Regions from separate parts of the Homo sapiens genome. Here region 2 is linked to region 1. Evidence: promoter capture Hi-C in 16 types of primary human blood cells and fetal thymus (Javierre and others, 2016). All regions are on one chromosome and are shown on one strand. Each heading gives the region's core, a stretch centred on a gene start or on the middle of the fragment in contact. The rest is flanking DNA. Distances are from core to core; before and after follow the strand shown.

The links. Contacts are between HindIII fragments. The CHiCAGO score rates a contact against its expected background, and 5 or more counts as called.
Region 2: a fragment that was not itself captured here is called in contact with the fragment with the promoter of SUSD6 in region 1 in 1 of 17 cell types (M1 macrophages); the score reaches 6.5 in M1 macrophages.

The regions. Positions count from the first base shown.
Region 1 is chr14:69,608,114-69,615,966 of GRCh38, reverse strand. It overlaps SUSD6 (sushi domain containing 6), which reads right to left and starts at 4,371. Exons shown (of 6, transcript NM_014734.4): 1 at 4,139-4,371. RefSeq lists enhancers at 1-167, 438-487 and a silencer at 3,853-4,622. The HindIII fragment of the contact is 10,737 bases long and covers 786-7,853 here.
Region 2 is chr14:70,885,458-70,893,310 of GRCh38, reverse strand. No RefSeq gene overlaps it. Among named protein-coding and RNA genes, the nearest start is that of PCNX1, 18 kb to the left of the region's middle. RefSeq lists an enhancer at 5,698-6,007. The HindIII fragment of the contact is 2,813 bases long and covers 3,189-6,001 here.

The DNA.
Region 1 (7,853 bases), core at 3,122-5,621:
CAGGTAATTTTAAGGATCTACTAACACTGGCGACAGTAACAGGGAACTACATCTGTTTCTGTTTGAGAAAAATGCTTCAGTAATATCCTGTTTCAGGAGTACTGTGTGAATTCTTGGCACGCAGCCTTCAGATGTTTCAAGGGTGGCTATTTTCCTTTTTTGAGATAGAAGAGCCAGGGAGGGAGACTACATCACAGGCAACACCACAGTCTGTGAAATTAGTTTCAGTTCTCACTGCTGCACTTCCTGCTGTCGCTGTATCCAGTACCTTCACGGACGCTTAACTGTCCCAAGCCTTGACAGTAGTACAGTTGGCCTTTCACGGCTGAAGTGACCCAGCTCAGTGCCACTGCAAGGTCCACCAGTGGAGCGACTTCCACACTCAAGTAAGAACCAGAGGATGAGAGAGCAAATGGAGGCACCCTGCTGGTTTCCAGGCCAAAAAAAACTAAAAAGGGAAGAAAAAGGACACCATCGCAGACACATCAGCCCAAGAAGAACACAGGTGCCTAACAGGCTCTGCTGCGAAAACCTAAGCCTTGTAAGAGGCACCTTTCCCCAGAACTTGTACTTTTTAAGATGAAAGGTTCTTACACAGAAACACAAACTTACACTCATCCAAGGGACACACAATGGCTGTTGCCTTGAATCCAAGCCAGGGGTGGAGTGAACAGATCTTGACGCGCAAGGACAGTCCACCCAAAGGTTCCTGAGTACTATGGAGCTCGTGAGAAACCTGGGGAAAGAGTCTCTATTTCCCCTAGTTTTGCATTTGTCCCAAAGCTTACATTTAACCAAATGTCCTAATCCTCAACATTCAAGTCTGCAACAAAGCAATGTTTGCTCTCAAAGTTGAAAAGAAGACAAGACATGGGGCTCCCTCCTCTATTGGCTCCTTCTGATCTTTCTCCCACTGCTTGAGCGAACACCCTCTAACAAGACTTCCATAGTGTCCAGACAGAAAGAAGAGGGAAAATAAATCCTGCTTGTCAGCTTCAACTAGGAGATAGCATGTCATTTCAGGAGCTTAATAACTCACTTCATGTATGGCAATTACACAACCTGGGCCCAATGGATCTGCTGACATTCGGGCCTGCAAGTGTGAATTGTCTCTTAATAAATGGGGAACTAGAGGGGAAAGACAACCACGTGTGCCCTCTGGCCTTCCCTCTCTGCTGGCAAGTGGTTCTGCTTCATTCTCCACAGTTCACTTGTTTGGTACTGAAATGAGGAAGAGTATGTACCTCACTATTTTTTTTTAAAGATGCTGTATTTCTCCCAGCCTACAAATGATACCAGTAGTAACTTGGTTGTCAGAAGAGCTAAGGATATGAAAAAAGGGCAGAAGAAAATATTTGAAGCAAAAGCCAAGTTTTTATGTGGGAAATGGACAAGTGTGGAGGGAGTGAAACAATGCTTAGTAGCAATAAACTTGAAAGAAGTTCTAACTTTAAAGAAACCAGGTGAATTATTACCTTTTGGAAGGGGTGTGTGTGTGCATGTAGAGGGAAGGCTGCTGCAGGAATTGCTGCCCCACCAAAAGAGCAAAGGAGGACATCCCCTACTGAGAGATGCAACATTACATAAGAACACAAGTTCAGGCCGGGCACGGTGGCTCACGCCCGTAATCCCAACACTTTGGGAGGCCAAGACGGGCAGATCACCTGAGGTCAGGCGTTCGAGACCAGCCTAGCCAACATGGTAAAACCAAGTCTCTACTAAAAATACAAAAATTAGCCAGGCGTGATGACACGCACCTGTAGTCCCAGCTGCTCAGGAGGCTGAGGCAGAGAATCGTTTGAACCTGGGAGGTGAAGGTTGCAGTGAGCCGAGATCGTGCCACTGCACTCCAGCCCGGGTGACAGAGCGAGACTCCATCTCAAAAAAAATAAAAAATAAAAAAGAACACAAGTTCAATCACCACACCTCAGAGACTGACCAGGAAAACAGACAAAGTGCTGAGGTCTCTTTATCTGCCAGCCTGTATCTGTAACACCTCATTCTACCCTTCTTTCTCTTCTATCTCACCAAATTCTGGGCTTTCAGAAGGCAGGCTTCAGCGAAAGAAGTCAAACTTGCCCATTTGACAGTGGGTTTGCTCTCAGGGTTTAAACACTGAGCACCCTGGCACCTGTCTCTATCTAGGTGTAAGTGAGGATTTGTTTCATATGCCATTTCTACTACAGTATCCAAAAAATTACTCTGCAGACAGGAAGTCCTATCTATCAGGACTCATACCAATACTGTCCTCTGTTTAACTCGCTGGGCAGAAGTTCCTTCAGCAGCAAATGGCCAGCAATGAAAGCTAACAACATAAACCAAAACAAATGGACTTAAAGGCTGTGAGTCCATGAGAGCTGGATTCTGACTTATTCAATGCAGTACCTGCAATACCTAGCACAGTGCCTGGCATACATTCGGTATCACATAACTACTTGGGAGTACTGAATGAAAGAATGAACAAATGAATCTTATGCAAACATACCGTAAGTGTGTACCCAGGAGAAAGAGTTTAGAATGCTCATGATCTGAGAAACAGCCTGAAGCAGCAGTGCTTTCAGAAGGTTTTAGAAAGACTCCAGGTTCAATTTTATCAAAAGGTAAACAAACCAGAAACTAGCAGTATAATCTAGTAGTTCAGACTGTGGGCTCCACCATGAGATACCTATGTGACATGGGCGAGTTATTTAACTTGTTTGGTTTGGGTCTCAACTAGAAGAATGGGGATAATAATATCTACATCAAAAGTCTGTTATTAAATGAGTTCAAAAAAGTAAAGCCCTTAGCACAAAGGTTGGTACTCAGTAAGTCCTCAAGAACCTTTCCATATTATTGCTGCTTAAATACCTTCTTTCCTGAGATGTAGACATACCTCCCCCAACTCCAGGAAAATTTTAATTTCTGGTTGAATATGCTTCTAGCTAAAAACACAAAACCCAGAGAACTCAGAAGTCAGTGCCAAGCACATGTCTCTACTAGCCTCCACTAGATGGTGACAGTTTGGGTGTGGAATTCCCAAAACAGAAAAGGTGTGTGTGCGTAACTCCTATGTATGTTTTTACACCAGAGGAACGAAAACAGCAAGAAATGAATTAACTACTGTGAAGGAAAGACATACTTCCCATCTCTGTAGATCAAAAAAGGGAGTAAATCCCTAGGCCTAATTGAACTGAGTAATCTTACTGCACCTCTGGAAGAGCACACAGGAGCCCAGTTAGCGAGAGCAACAAAGCCCAGCATGTCGCCTGCCACTGAAAGAAAATTCTGTGGGAACAACAGCTTTAGGCCTCCTTGCCCAGACGCCAACTTCCCTTTAACCAGCCCAAGACTTTATTTTGACGCCTCTTTGCTCCTGGGTCTTGCTGTCCCCATAACCACCTCCCCCTCCTGCTCCTAAATTCGTCCAGGGTAACTTTTCTCCACTTCAGCAGCTCCCCAGCCACGACTCCCATGAGGGAGAGTCAGATCCACACTCATAGCTGGGGTCTCAAAACCAAGCGAAAAAAGGAAAGTCTGTATGTACGTGCCTACTTTTTGAAAGAAAATAGCTGGTTTCGGGGAGTTTAGCCTGGTTAATAAGAGAAGTTTTTGAGATTAAAGAGCAGCCGAGGCGCGGGGGCTCCCGAATGCCGCGGTGCGCACAGGCGGGCTCTGAGATTTCCTCAGGAAATCCACCTTCTCTAAGCCAGCCCTGCCCCAGCGCAAGCCCCGCAGCTTTGCTGGGCTGAGGGCAGTAATGACAGTGGCACAGAGGGCCTCTGCCTACCTCCTCTGCACCCATCGGCACGGCGTCTGGCTCTTCCGGTGCTGCCCGGGCAGCGACGCGGGACGGCGCGCCCCGGACCGCGGGTCACCAAGTTCCCGGCCGCAAACCAGCCGCCGGTCCCCCCGGCCGCGCAGCCCCCACTGCTGGCCGGCTGGCCGCGCCACGCCAGCGCGGGGCTCCCAGCGGCGCGGCTCGCGGCCGGGTGACAGCGGGCCGGCGCAGAGAAGCGCGGGGAGCCGCCGAAGCCGGCCCGGGCTCCGGCCAGCGTCACTCCTGGGCGGTGCGCGCTGGTCCCGCGCCCCTGACAGCCGGCCGAGCGCGTCGATGGCACAATGCCGGCCCCGCCGCCCCCGGGCCGCGGTGACAACTCACCCGGGAGCCGGCGGAGACCTCCGGGATGGGGGCGCTCACAGCTTCCACGCCGCCGCTTGCGCGCGCCCGCAGTCTTCTCGGGTCTAGGCGAGGCCCCGCGTGCCCTTGTCTAGCTCGCTCTGGCCGGCGCTGTGGGCAGAGGAAGCGGGCGGGAGGGAGGGAGGAGGTGGGGCGGTCGCCGGCTTCGGAGAATAGAACGCGGCGGTAGCGACGGCTGCAGCGCCCGCGTCACTGACCCAGCTGTACCGCGCGGGCGGGGGAGGCCCCGCGGAGGGGAGGGGGCGGGGAAGGGGCGGGAAAGGGGCAGGGCCAGGCGCGCACGCAACGGCGCCGGCGTCGCGCCGCCGCGACCGCCCCGCCGGGAGGCCCTGCACGCACGCGCCGCCGGCCGGGCCAGGTACCCAAGGGAGAAGCGACGCGGTTGGGGAGGTGGGGGGTCCTTAAAGAGACAGTCCCTCTGCGCTGGAGTGGATGGGGCGGTGGCACCGACTCAGCTGGACTATGCGGCGTTTCCAGTGCGCTCTCCAGTTCGTTTACTATTATTATTATTTGCATGATTGAATTACTATTATTTGCAAAGAATTGTACTGCCCTGAGGTTTACAAGGCTTTTGGCGCATGTTGCCTTGTTAGCTCTTGAATTGCTCGTCTGACCTAGCTCGTCTGAAGCAGGTTATTATCTCCCTGTTAAGCAGTAATCCGAACTGTGGTTCCTAGCCTGCCAACATTAAAGCTGCCCGGGGGGTGGGTGGGGGTGAAAATGCAGATTCGGGGCCCCGAATGACCTCCAGCCATTGTGATTCAGTGGGGTCGGACTTGGGAATCTGTATTTTCACTAGCATTCTGAAGTGAGTGATCCTTCAGCATACTAAAAGCACACAAGGGATCTCAAGGTTGAGAAAACCGCAGTTCAGAGCCAGGACTGGCAGAGCCCGGGCTAGAAGCCTGCCACATTCCTAACTGTATTTCCCCTCTTGAGCCTTGCCTTCTGGGGCTATTTTCTAGCACATACTGAGTGAGCAGTTTGTGCACTGTATGGCTACATCGTTTATTGGTGATCTCTCATGCAGTGTGTCCTCGGTTTATGTGTTTACAGGGCCCGTGGCGCCTTGATGGGGAGGACTCTGGCTTTTTATCTTTGTACCCCAGGGCCTTGCACCGTGTCGGTCTCAGAGGTCCTCCATAAGTGTTAAGGAACTCCTACTTGTAAATCAGTGGTAGAGTCCACATCTGGACCTACAGACTTGTGTCTTTGCTGCAGCTTGGGTCAGGCAGGCCTCTTCTCCCAGATGCTCTTGGACAAAAGGATACACCTTCTCAGGGCCTCTCACCAGGCCTAGTTCTAGTAGGCTTTCGGGAAAAGCACTGTGAATTAACAGGGCATGTCCTTGTGAAGTAGCTTGAACCAAATAAACAGGATGCTCCTCCCCATGCACACAGACCCATCCCCAAAAGAACCCTTCCCTTCTGGGCCCCACAGCAACCTGTGGCTCGTTGCTATAATGCCTTTTTCATAAGTCTATCCTTGTTCTGCCTTCTTTCTTCCTTGCCTTCTTGGGTCCAGACTCATTAGAGAAGATGGGCACCCCTCCCTTCCTGCTCATTTGGGGCCACACTGCCCAGACCACTAGAAGATTGAAAAGCACAATTCAGAACTACCTGGGTCTGCCTCAGAGCACAACCAAATCAGTGTGGGCAGCAGGAACATGCCAGGCAGACCCAAGGCTCAGGGAGGGGACAAGGGGGAAGGAAGCAAGGGAAAGGGATGGAGGAAGAATTGGAGAAGATGAATGGAGGAAGGAGAAAAAGAAAGAAAGGAAAGGGAAGAAAGCAGGCATGGATGGTTCAGGTCAGATCAACTGCCAAAGTAACTGAGCCCCTGGCTGTGCACTGAAGTCAGTTTGGCCATTAAGAGGCTCAGTAACTTCATACAAGAACTGCCACCTTATAAAATCCCTTGTGAGACCCTATGCAGATCTGTCCATCACTACCCAAAAATCCTCAGTCGGGCGCGGTAGCTCACGCCTGTAATCCCAGCACTTTGGGAGGCTAAGGCAGGCAGATCACGAAGTCAGGAGTTTGAGACCAGCCTGGACAACATGGCGAAACCCCTTCTCTACTAAAAATACAAAAATTAGCCAGGCGTGGTGGCACATGCCTGTAATCCTAGCTATTCAGGAGCCTGAGGCAGGAGAATTGCTTGAACTCAGGAAGCAGAGGTTGCAGTGAGCCGAGATCGTGCCATTGCATTCCAGCCTGGGTGACAGAGTGAGACTGTCTCAAAAAAAAAAAATCCTCTCCCAGACCTTCAGGGTCCACAGAATGAACTCAAAGTCATCAGCAAGGACTGTAGTATCCTGTGCTGTCCACAGTCCGGCCCAAATGCTCTCCATCCCTCCACACACCCCACTCCAGCCTCCCCATACCACCTGCTGGTCTCTAACAAGCCATTCCTGTCACAAACCAGGTGCCCATGCTGTTTCCTCAATCTTGAAGGCCTTCTCTACTTACCCTTCAGAATCTTCCCAAGGCTGCTGCTTCTACTTTTCTGTGGCACTTTGGTTGAGCCCCAAAGTGCCACAGAAAAGTATTAAATTAAAATTTTTAAACATTTTAAATATTTAATTATTTATTTATTTATTTTGACGGAGTCTTGCTCTGTCGCCCAGGCTGGAGTGCAGTGGCATGATCTGAGCTCACTGCAACCTCCGCCTCCCGGGTTCAGGGGATTCTCCTGCCTCAGTCTCCCGAGTAGCTGGGTTACAGCTGGGATTAGCTTCCATTTCCTTCTGCTTTGAATTGCCAGAATCAGGGTCAAGTCTCCTCCCTTTATAAATGTCAGCTCACCAGCCTTTCCTGTCTTCTCATCCCCTCCTATCTGAAGTTCCACTGGCCTCTTCAGTACAGCTGACGAAAAGCCCCTGTTACATTCTACGTATAGGCCTTGCTCTTCTCACCCGCAAAATGGAATGGTACTTCCTGGCCTGGGGTGAATATTATCTTTCTGCCATTGAAAAGATCTCACAAGATGAAGGTTAAGAATAATTTAGACTTAGACATTCTCAAGTGGGAGGGATCATAGATTTTTTTAAATAAAATTCTTTAAAATTTTTAAGATTTTTTTTTAATTTAACAGCTTTCTCACACCTGTAACCCCAGCATTTTGGGAAGCTGAGGCAGGCTGATCATTTGAGGCCAGAAGTTCAAGACCAGCCTGGCCAACATGGCAAAACCTCGTCTCTACTAAAAATATAAAAATTAGCCTGGCGTGGTGGTGCACGCCTGTAATCCCAGCTATGTGGGAGGCTAGTCACAAGAATTGCTTGAACCTGGGAGGCAGAGGCTGCAATGAGCTGAGATTGCGCCACTGCACTCCAGCCTGGGCGACAGAGTGAGACTGTGTCTTAAATAAATTAATTAATTAATTAACAGCTTTATTGAGATATTCACATACCAGCAATTCACAGTTTAAATTTGTATTTATTTTGTATAACTTTACAAATTGTACAAATTTGCACATGTACAATTGTACATTTAGAGTGAACAATTCAATGGTTTTTAGTATATTTACAGAGTCGTACAATATTTTAGAACATTTTCATGACCCTAAAAAAAACTCCCATACCCATCAGCAGTCACTACCATTTCCTCCCTCCCTACCACCTTCCCTGCCTCCCTCCCTAGGCAACCAACAATCTACTTTCTGTCTCTATAGA
Region 2 (7,853 bases), core at 3,346-5,845, 1.3 Mb before region 1:
TGAGTATCTCATGGAAGATAAAAATCTCTTCTCCTCCCCGTCATTGAAACCTATTGTGTAGATGTAGATCTTTATTTAGTGCGAACTCATATCCTGTGTTCTTGCATCAAAACATGCCTTTTTTAACCTTAAAAAAAAGCAACAGCACAAGTTTGTGTAAAAATGACTCCCAAACATTTCAAGTGTTTCTACTATCACACTAGGTTGTCCAACCTCCAAATTTCTGGGGAGTGGCTAGGAGTGATGCTGCAGCAAATTCCCAGTTTTTCAAGAATGTTTACACTGTATTTGTGTCATAAGAGTGCTTCAGTTTTCTATTGCCTATATCTACAGACATTGTAGTGGTATCACCATTAACAGAACACTGCAGTTTTGACCTTACATACACATAAAAATTGAGAGTTGGTTATACAAGCTTTCCCTATAAGCAAGAGTCCATTAGAAGTTTCATTATAAGTGAAGGGTATGTGTTAGGGTTGAGTACCCAGCTTTGATACACAGCAGGGCTTAAATGTAGTATGTGCACTACCATAGTCAGATCTATCAGGAAGGCTGCACGATGAGCCACATTCTCCACTGATGTCTTTTGGAGATACTCAAAATGGATGATATTCACACAAGCAGGCACACTGTCATAGGAAAACTCAGATTCAAACTTTGGTGAAACCCAGTATTTTCCAGGGAGGAAAGCAAGGCAATAACTTATAATCACAAAAACTATTATTATCTCCACCAGCCATGGTCTTTTAGTGCTACTGCACAGATATAACTGATGTGTGTGATTCCCCAGATAGCTTGCTGCAATTTGACCTATTCTTTCTGCTCAAAAAATGCACTTCAGGCCAGGCGCGGTGGCTCTCACCTGTAATCTAAGCACTTTCGGAGGCCGAGGCAGGTGGATCCCCTGAGATCAGGAGTTCAAGACCAGCCTGGCCAACATGGCAAATCCCCATCTCTACTGAACATACAAAAATCAGCCAGGCTTGGTGGTGCATGCCTGTAATCCCAGCTACCAGTTCTGAGGGGGAGCTGAGGCAAAAGTATCACTTGAACCTGGGAGGTGGAGGTTGCAGTGAGCCGAGATCGTGCCACTGCACTCCAGCCTGGGCAACAGAGCAAGACTCCATCTCAAAAAAAAAAAAAAATGCACTTCAATACAAGAAAATGAGAGACTCTTGACTTATGATTCTAAATTATCACCATCAAATATAATTCTTTTGTTAATGACGAATTCTTGTGTGAAACGTCTCACAACTGAATGCCATACAGTGGAATAGAACCTGTTTACTGGGAAGGGTGTAGGATTGGGATTCAGAGAGACTGTGTTCATTTCTGGATTGTAACTCACTACCTGTTGCTTAAGAAAGCAAGTCTATTTCCTCATCTGTGGAATGCATAAAATGACCCCTTTATCTCAGGCTTACTGAGAGAATTAAATCAGGTTTGAAACAGTATGCTGTAAATTGCCAGGCAAGTGTCAATCATTGTCATTGTCTCCCACAGCTGCCAGTTCCTTGCATGGGCCACCATGTCTGTAGCATAGCCCCATAGAGTGTCTAGATTTTTCCTGCTACAAGCCCACAGAAGAGCCTCCTCAGTGATGCAATACATACGTTAATTTCTTAAGGTTAAAAAATAATTTCTCTAAATTGAGGTGAGTTGATATACTTTTCCAACCCAAATATCAGGTCTACTTCAGCAGCTGCTAAAGGAAAGAAATTACCCCTGCTCCTATTTCTCTCTGCTCCTGCAGAGTAAAACAGCAGCTAAAAACCAAGATTCTCTGACACTATTTCCTTTCTCAGCATTATAGGCCAGTATCCTGGGATCTGACATTAACCATTAGGAATTTCTTCAGCAGCAGCAGACTGGGAAAAGCAACTGCCAGTACTAAAGGAATACATTAAAACTCTTTTAAAAAAAAAAGTCACGAAGATAGTTGGATATGCTGAGTTGACTCAGACTCTTCAATATAGAGCAGTCATCTTGATGGCAACATTCATCCTGACTACGCTAAACAGGTGACCTATTCTATCAGCGATGGTGTCCAGAGCCATTGAAACACAATGTACATCATTATGTCATATACGAGGGGAAAGTTGACTAAGGTTCCAAGATCCCAAGGGTTTTAATTAATAGGAAAATTTGATTCAATAATAGTCATTTAAAAAAATGGAAGGAAAACAAGGGGAGGGAGTGATAAGGGTGGGAAGCATAGACAGGAAGCTGTATAAAATGCCCTGAAGGCTTGAAGTTGGCACTACTATAAGTCAGGGCCAGATTAGCTAGGGGACTGAAATAGCCGCAGAGAAAGAGTCCAGGAGCTACCAACACAACCATTCTAATCATGTTCTTCTCTTATCAAGCAAACTCCACTTCCTTTCTTTATCATCTACTTTATAAGTGCTCACTAGTGGCTCCACTACCAGCTTCCCCTGCAGAACTGAGAGGCTCAACTATTCCTGTTGGGGTAAAAATGATGAGAAAAATATCTCAGGATATTTCTGACTCTCTTCTCTCCACCCCCATGAACATCTCCCACCCCCAGGGCCCCAATTCTGCTTTTCTTCACTTAAAAAACTTCAAGCCAGGCCAGGTGCAGCGGCTAATGCCTGTAATCCCAACATTTTGAGAGGTTCAGGTGGGCAGATCCCTTGGGCTCAGGAGTTCGAGACCAGCCTGGGCAACATGGCAAAACCCTGTCTCTACAAAAAATATAAAAAATGAACTGGGCATGGTGGTGTGCATCTGCAATCCCAGCTGGGGCTACCCAGGAGGCTGAGGCGGGAGGATCAACTGATCTTGAGAGGTCAAGGCTGCAGTGAACCGTGATTACACCACTGCATTACAGCTTGGGCGATGGAGTGAAACCCTGTCTCAGAAAAAATTTAAACCCTCAAATCATCCCTCTTCGGTGAAGCCTTCCTTGACCTCTCCAGCACTTACTAATTTTTATTTTTCTTAATACCTATGACTTGTACATAACACAGTAAATGGACACAGTAGACATATTTCTGTCTCATGTGTGCTGACCTTTTCTTCTCAAATAGATTATAAACACTTTGAGGACGGGACTCATTTTAAACTTCTTGAAATCATCTGCCAAATTCTGTGATTTGGTGATTAGCCCGGCTAGGATCAACTTAGGCCCTAGAGTATCTCTATAGTTGGGGAGAATGTAAAAAGCTTTAGAGGTACTAAAAACGCAAAAATGAAAAGCAGAGTATGAGTTTCTCAGCATGATAGCATCAAATCAGCCTTGCTACTGGACCTACACAAACCTTTTCTTTGATTCTAGTAGCCAGTCTTATTCCTGAAGATCAAGTCCCTAACAGCCTGTCCGTAGGTCCCTTTTCAGTGACTCTTGTTGATATCTCATTTGTTCTAGATTGTGCGCTTTCTCTTGCTAATCCTTTAAAAAAAAAAAAGAAACCCAAATCCTGCCTCTGAACCTCACCCTCGAAGGTGCAGTCCCTGCTACCCACTATCCTGAGCAGCCCCTTTGGATTTCATGACTGCCCAGACCTCTGTAGTGCGTGGGCTGTGCTCCACCCACCTGTAGTTAATCTCACACCCTACCTGGCACTGGCTGGCCAGTCTGCTTCTTTGGTCTGCCTCTTTCTGCCAAGATCTTCTGGAAACGCCTGCCTTGCTCCTGGGCTCCTGGCTGGTCCCCGCATCCTTTCCATTTTGCCATCAACTAAGCCATCATTCTCAGATTTAAGAAAAAGAATTCCCCTCAATATTAAAGACACAGCAGACACATACACGTGCAAATACCCATAGTCATAAGTTCCTTTATCATTGAGAAAATTTTTACTACCTTCCTAAATTTATATTCTCCCTTTTCAGGCATTTAGCATCATCTCTAGGTCTTCCAATGTTATGCTTGGAATTTTCTTTAAATAAAAGTGGCCCTTAGAGGTCATTTACTCCAACCTTCTTATTTTACTCCTGGTCTCTACTACCCTACCTTTACGCATCTATTTAGAAGCTAGTGGCACAGGATTTTTGCTAATGATGCCTTTATTGAGGGATTTTCTTTGTCTGTTAGTAAATTACCATGATGCTAGAAGATTTTACAGAAAGTCTCAACTTAGTAATCAGCTACCATCAAAATACATTTATCTATTATTAAGGTAAGACAATTTCCTTCTCAGCCCCAGAAGGGAGGCACATGCACACAAGTATGCACACACACACACACTCACAATGTGATCAGCCAGCTCTCTGTCTGGAAAAATCAAAATACCTCCCAGCTGGAATGACAGCATCATTTTATTAACGCTGAAATAGGAGGGTGATAAAGCAAGTCTCAGCAGGCATAGCAGAAATGCACTGCTTTTATGATTCATATTTCAAAAATGATGCCATGGGAGCAAAAATGCAAAGCAGAGCTTATTATATGCTAGCAAAAATGGAGTGAAGGGTAGTCACCTCAGCTGTGCCTTTTAAGCTCTAAAGGAAGCAACACCACTACCAATTTTCTCTCCTCACCCTGAGGTTGCAACAGACACTTGGATTTGTCTACAGCCATTACTTCATTGTTCTCTGTGCTGTGAGTGGGCTAAGAAAATGATGTTGTTTCCTGTGTGATGATCTTGCTAGAGCTTTGGAGGTACTAAGGAGAATTGCAAAGAAACAGAATCATTAGTACAGTCATCCTTCATCCCTAGTTGTGGGGGGTGGGGAGAAATTGCTTCCAGGACTCCAGGATACCAAAATCTGGGGGATGCTTAAGTCCCTAATATAAAATGATGTAGTACTTGTATGTAACCTATGCACATCCTCCCATAGTTTAAATCATCTTTAGATTACTTATAATATCTAATACAATGTAAATGCTATGTAAATATGTGTTACACTGTATTATTTTTATTTTTATTGTGTATTATTATTATTTTTTTAGTGTTTTTCACCCTCAGTTGGTTGAGTCTGTATATACAGAACCTGTGGATATGGAGGGCCAGCTATATTGTCCTCCGTAGCGCCACCTCTTGATGAGGGGCTGTTGTTGGCCCCTGCAATAGACTGAATGTCTGTCCTCCCCAGATTTATATGTTGAAACCTAATTCTCCTCATGATGGTATTTGGAGGTGAGACTTTTGGGAGGCGATGAGATGTAGCCCTCATGTATGGGATTAGCACCCTTTTAAAAGAGATCCCAGAGAGGTCCTTTGTCCCTTCTGCCATGTGAAGACAGCCATCTATGAACCAGGTAACAGGCTCTCACCAGACACAAAATCTGCTGGCACCTTGATTTTGGACTTCCAAGCCACCAGAACTGTGAGAAATACATTTCTGTGGTTTATGAGCCATTCAGTGTATAGTATTTTGTTATAGCAGCCCAGATGAACAACACAACTATGCTTTCCAAACCCAGAATCCACAGGGTATGTGTGCTGCTTCTCTCTCTGCTTTGCTTGGGGAGAAAGGAATATAAAGGACCCCTGGGAATCCCTTCCCCTGGAGGTTTCCAGCTGCCTGCTTTTGACTTTGACTTCTCTTCTCTCACATGCAAGTAAAGAAAACAATACTGGGTTAACATTTTCTAAGCTGTACAACCTTAGGACAGTGCCATTGGAAGGAAAATAGGCTAGAAATCAGAAAAGATGGGCTTGATTCCAAAGATTTCAGTCAGATCTTTGACGTCAAGATATCACAAACCCTCCTTCTTCAAAGTGCAGGCACTGTCTGTTGGCTCACATCATCCGTGAGCACTTAGAGTTCCTTGAGTAAGAAGTACTGCCTTCTATAAACATCTCTGCATCTGGAGACTTATTCCTGGACATTGCTAATGAGTCAGTGAAAAACCCCAAATGATCTATGTATCAATTCCTGTTTTACACTTTCAGTTTATACAATAAATGAGAAAAAGGGCTAAGCTCAATTTGCTGGAAGTTGACAGTCCATTTTTATTTTGAAATCATTGTTGGTAATTTCATACCAAAGGAGAGGCTTACAGCAAGAGAGTAGAAATGAAAGCAGAAATGAGAAAGCTTATATAGTCTCAATTTCGATGACTCTAAAAACATTGATCAATCAACAATGCAGCTCATCCAGGAAAACCAAAACACTTTGTGGTAGGCAGAATTCTAAGCCCCTAAGGTTTCCTGCCTCTGGGATCTGTGAGCCTTCTCCCACTTACTCAATCAAACAGCAACCTAGATTCTGCTGTGAAGGGATTTTGCAGATGTAATTAAGGTCCCAAGATAGGGAGATTGTCTGGGTGGGCTTGATCTAATAGCACGAGCCCTTTAACTCTGAGTCTGGAGGTCAAAGACAGAAAAAAATCAAAGAGGTTTGAAGCATGAGAAGAATTCAACAAAGGGGAGATTCTCTATTGCTGACTATGAAGATAAAAGGACCAAGTGGTAAGAAATGCGGCAGTTTCTAGGAACTGAGAGTGGCCCCCAGCTGACAGCCAGCCAGGAAACAGGGACCTCAGTCCCCCAACCGCAAGAAACTGAATCTGTGACAACCAGAATGAGCTTCCACAAGGCCCTTGAGCTCCAGATAAGAACACTGCCCAGCTGACATCTTGATTTAGCCCTGTGAGGAGATCAGTGGAGTCACACCCTTCCCAGTTCTGGGGGAAAACCTGTAAAGTAATGAATGGGGAGTTGTTTTAAGGGGATAAATTTATGATGATTTAGTATGCAGCATAGAACTAAAATCCACACTTCCTGAATGGTTTTAAAGCCTCTTAGCCTAACCCTAAGACCAAAACCCAACCTCCTTCAAAGAGAAACCTGCCAACCACTGTGAACCAAATCTATCAGACAAGTCTCTTGTGATTCAAATTATAACCCACGGCCCGACAGCATACATGTGGCCTAAGAAATGCAGCATCTCAGGTCCCATCTGGATCTACTGAATCAAAACCTTCATTTTAACAAATCGCCTGGTGACTTATATACACATTAAAGTGTGAGAAGCACCAGTTAGCATTTTAATGCAGAGCTGGAGATCTGGAATCAGCAAAACCCATGTTCCCAAGCTGGCTCTACAGTTTTACTAGCTATGCGGACTTAGACAAGTTACTTAACCTCTCTGAACTTCTATTAATCGGTAAAATGGAGCAGGTAATAGTACTGACTTTATAGAGTTGTGGTGAGGATTAAATGGGACAGTATGTAAAGTGCTTTAGCCCTGCATTTTGGCCTGTCGTTAGCCTGGCAAACAGTAAGGGCTTAATAAATTGTTGCTTATTATTGGATTGGGCAGTAATAGCATCAATTGAATGTAGAGGGAGCAGGTAAACTGTATCAGTTGGAAACTTGCAGGATCACTGTGGCTGGCATCCTCTGATTAAATATGTTGTCACGCAGCTCCTCAGAGACTGCAAAAGGTTGTGACCTTGGTTTTCTACCTAACACAAGGCTGGGTCAGCCATGCCATTCCATCCCAATGCCTGTAACCATCTGTGTATCCCCCGACCCTCTCCCTTGTCGGTATTTAACCTCACTGGGCTTGACCTCACTTAGCTAATGAGATCTGGCCAGAAACCATGGAGATGGTTGTCAGCAACTCGGGGCAGGTGGTATCCCTGAATACCAATGGCAGCTCAATCCACAGAAAAGATGAAGAGATGTGCCAGGGGCAAAACACAGCCTGTTGAACTGTTTTAACAGAAATCTAAGGTTCTTCTTATTTTTGTTGGAGGGAATGATGGCAATGGTGACAATGGTGTTGGCATTACTGAGTATAAGAATGAATGTATAAATCAACAGTGACAAATGAGTAATACATAAGCCAGAGAGCTTTTGTGATCAATTCTGCAGAGGCCCGTTCCCCCTCCTGGTGGTTTCTCTGTTCTTGGCAAAGACTCCTCTCACTTGCTTTATTTCTCA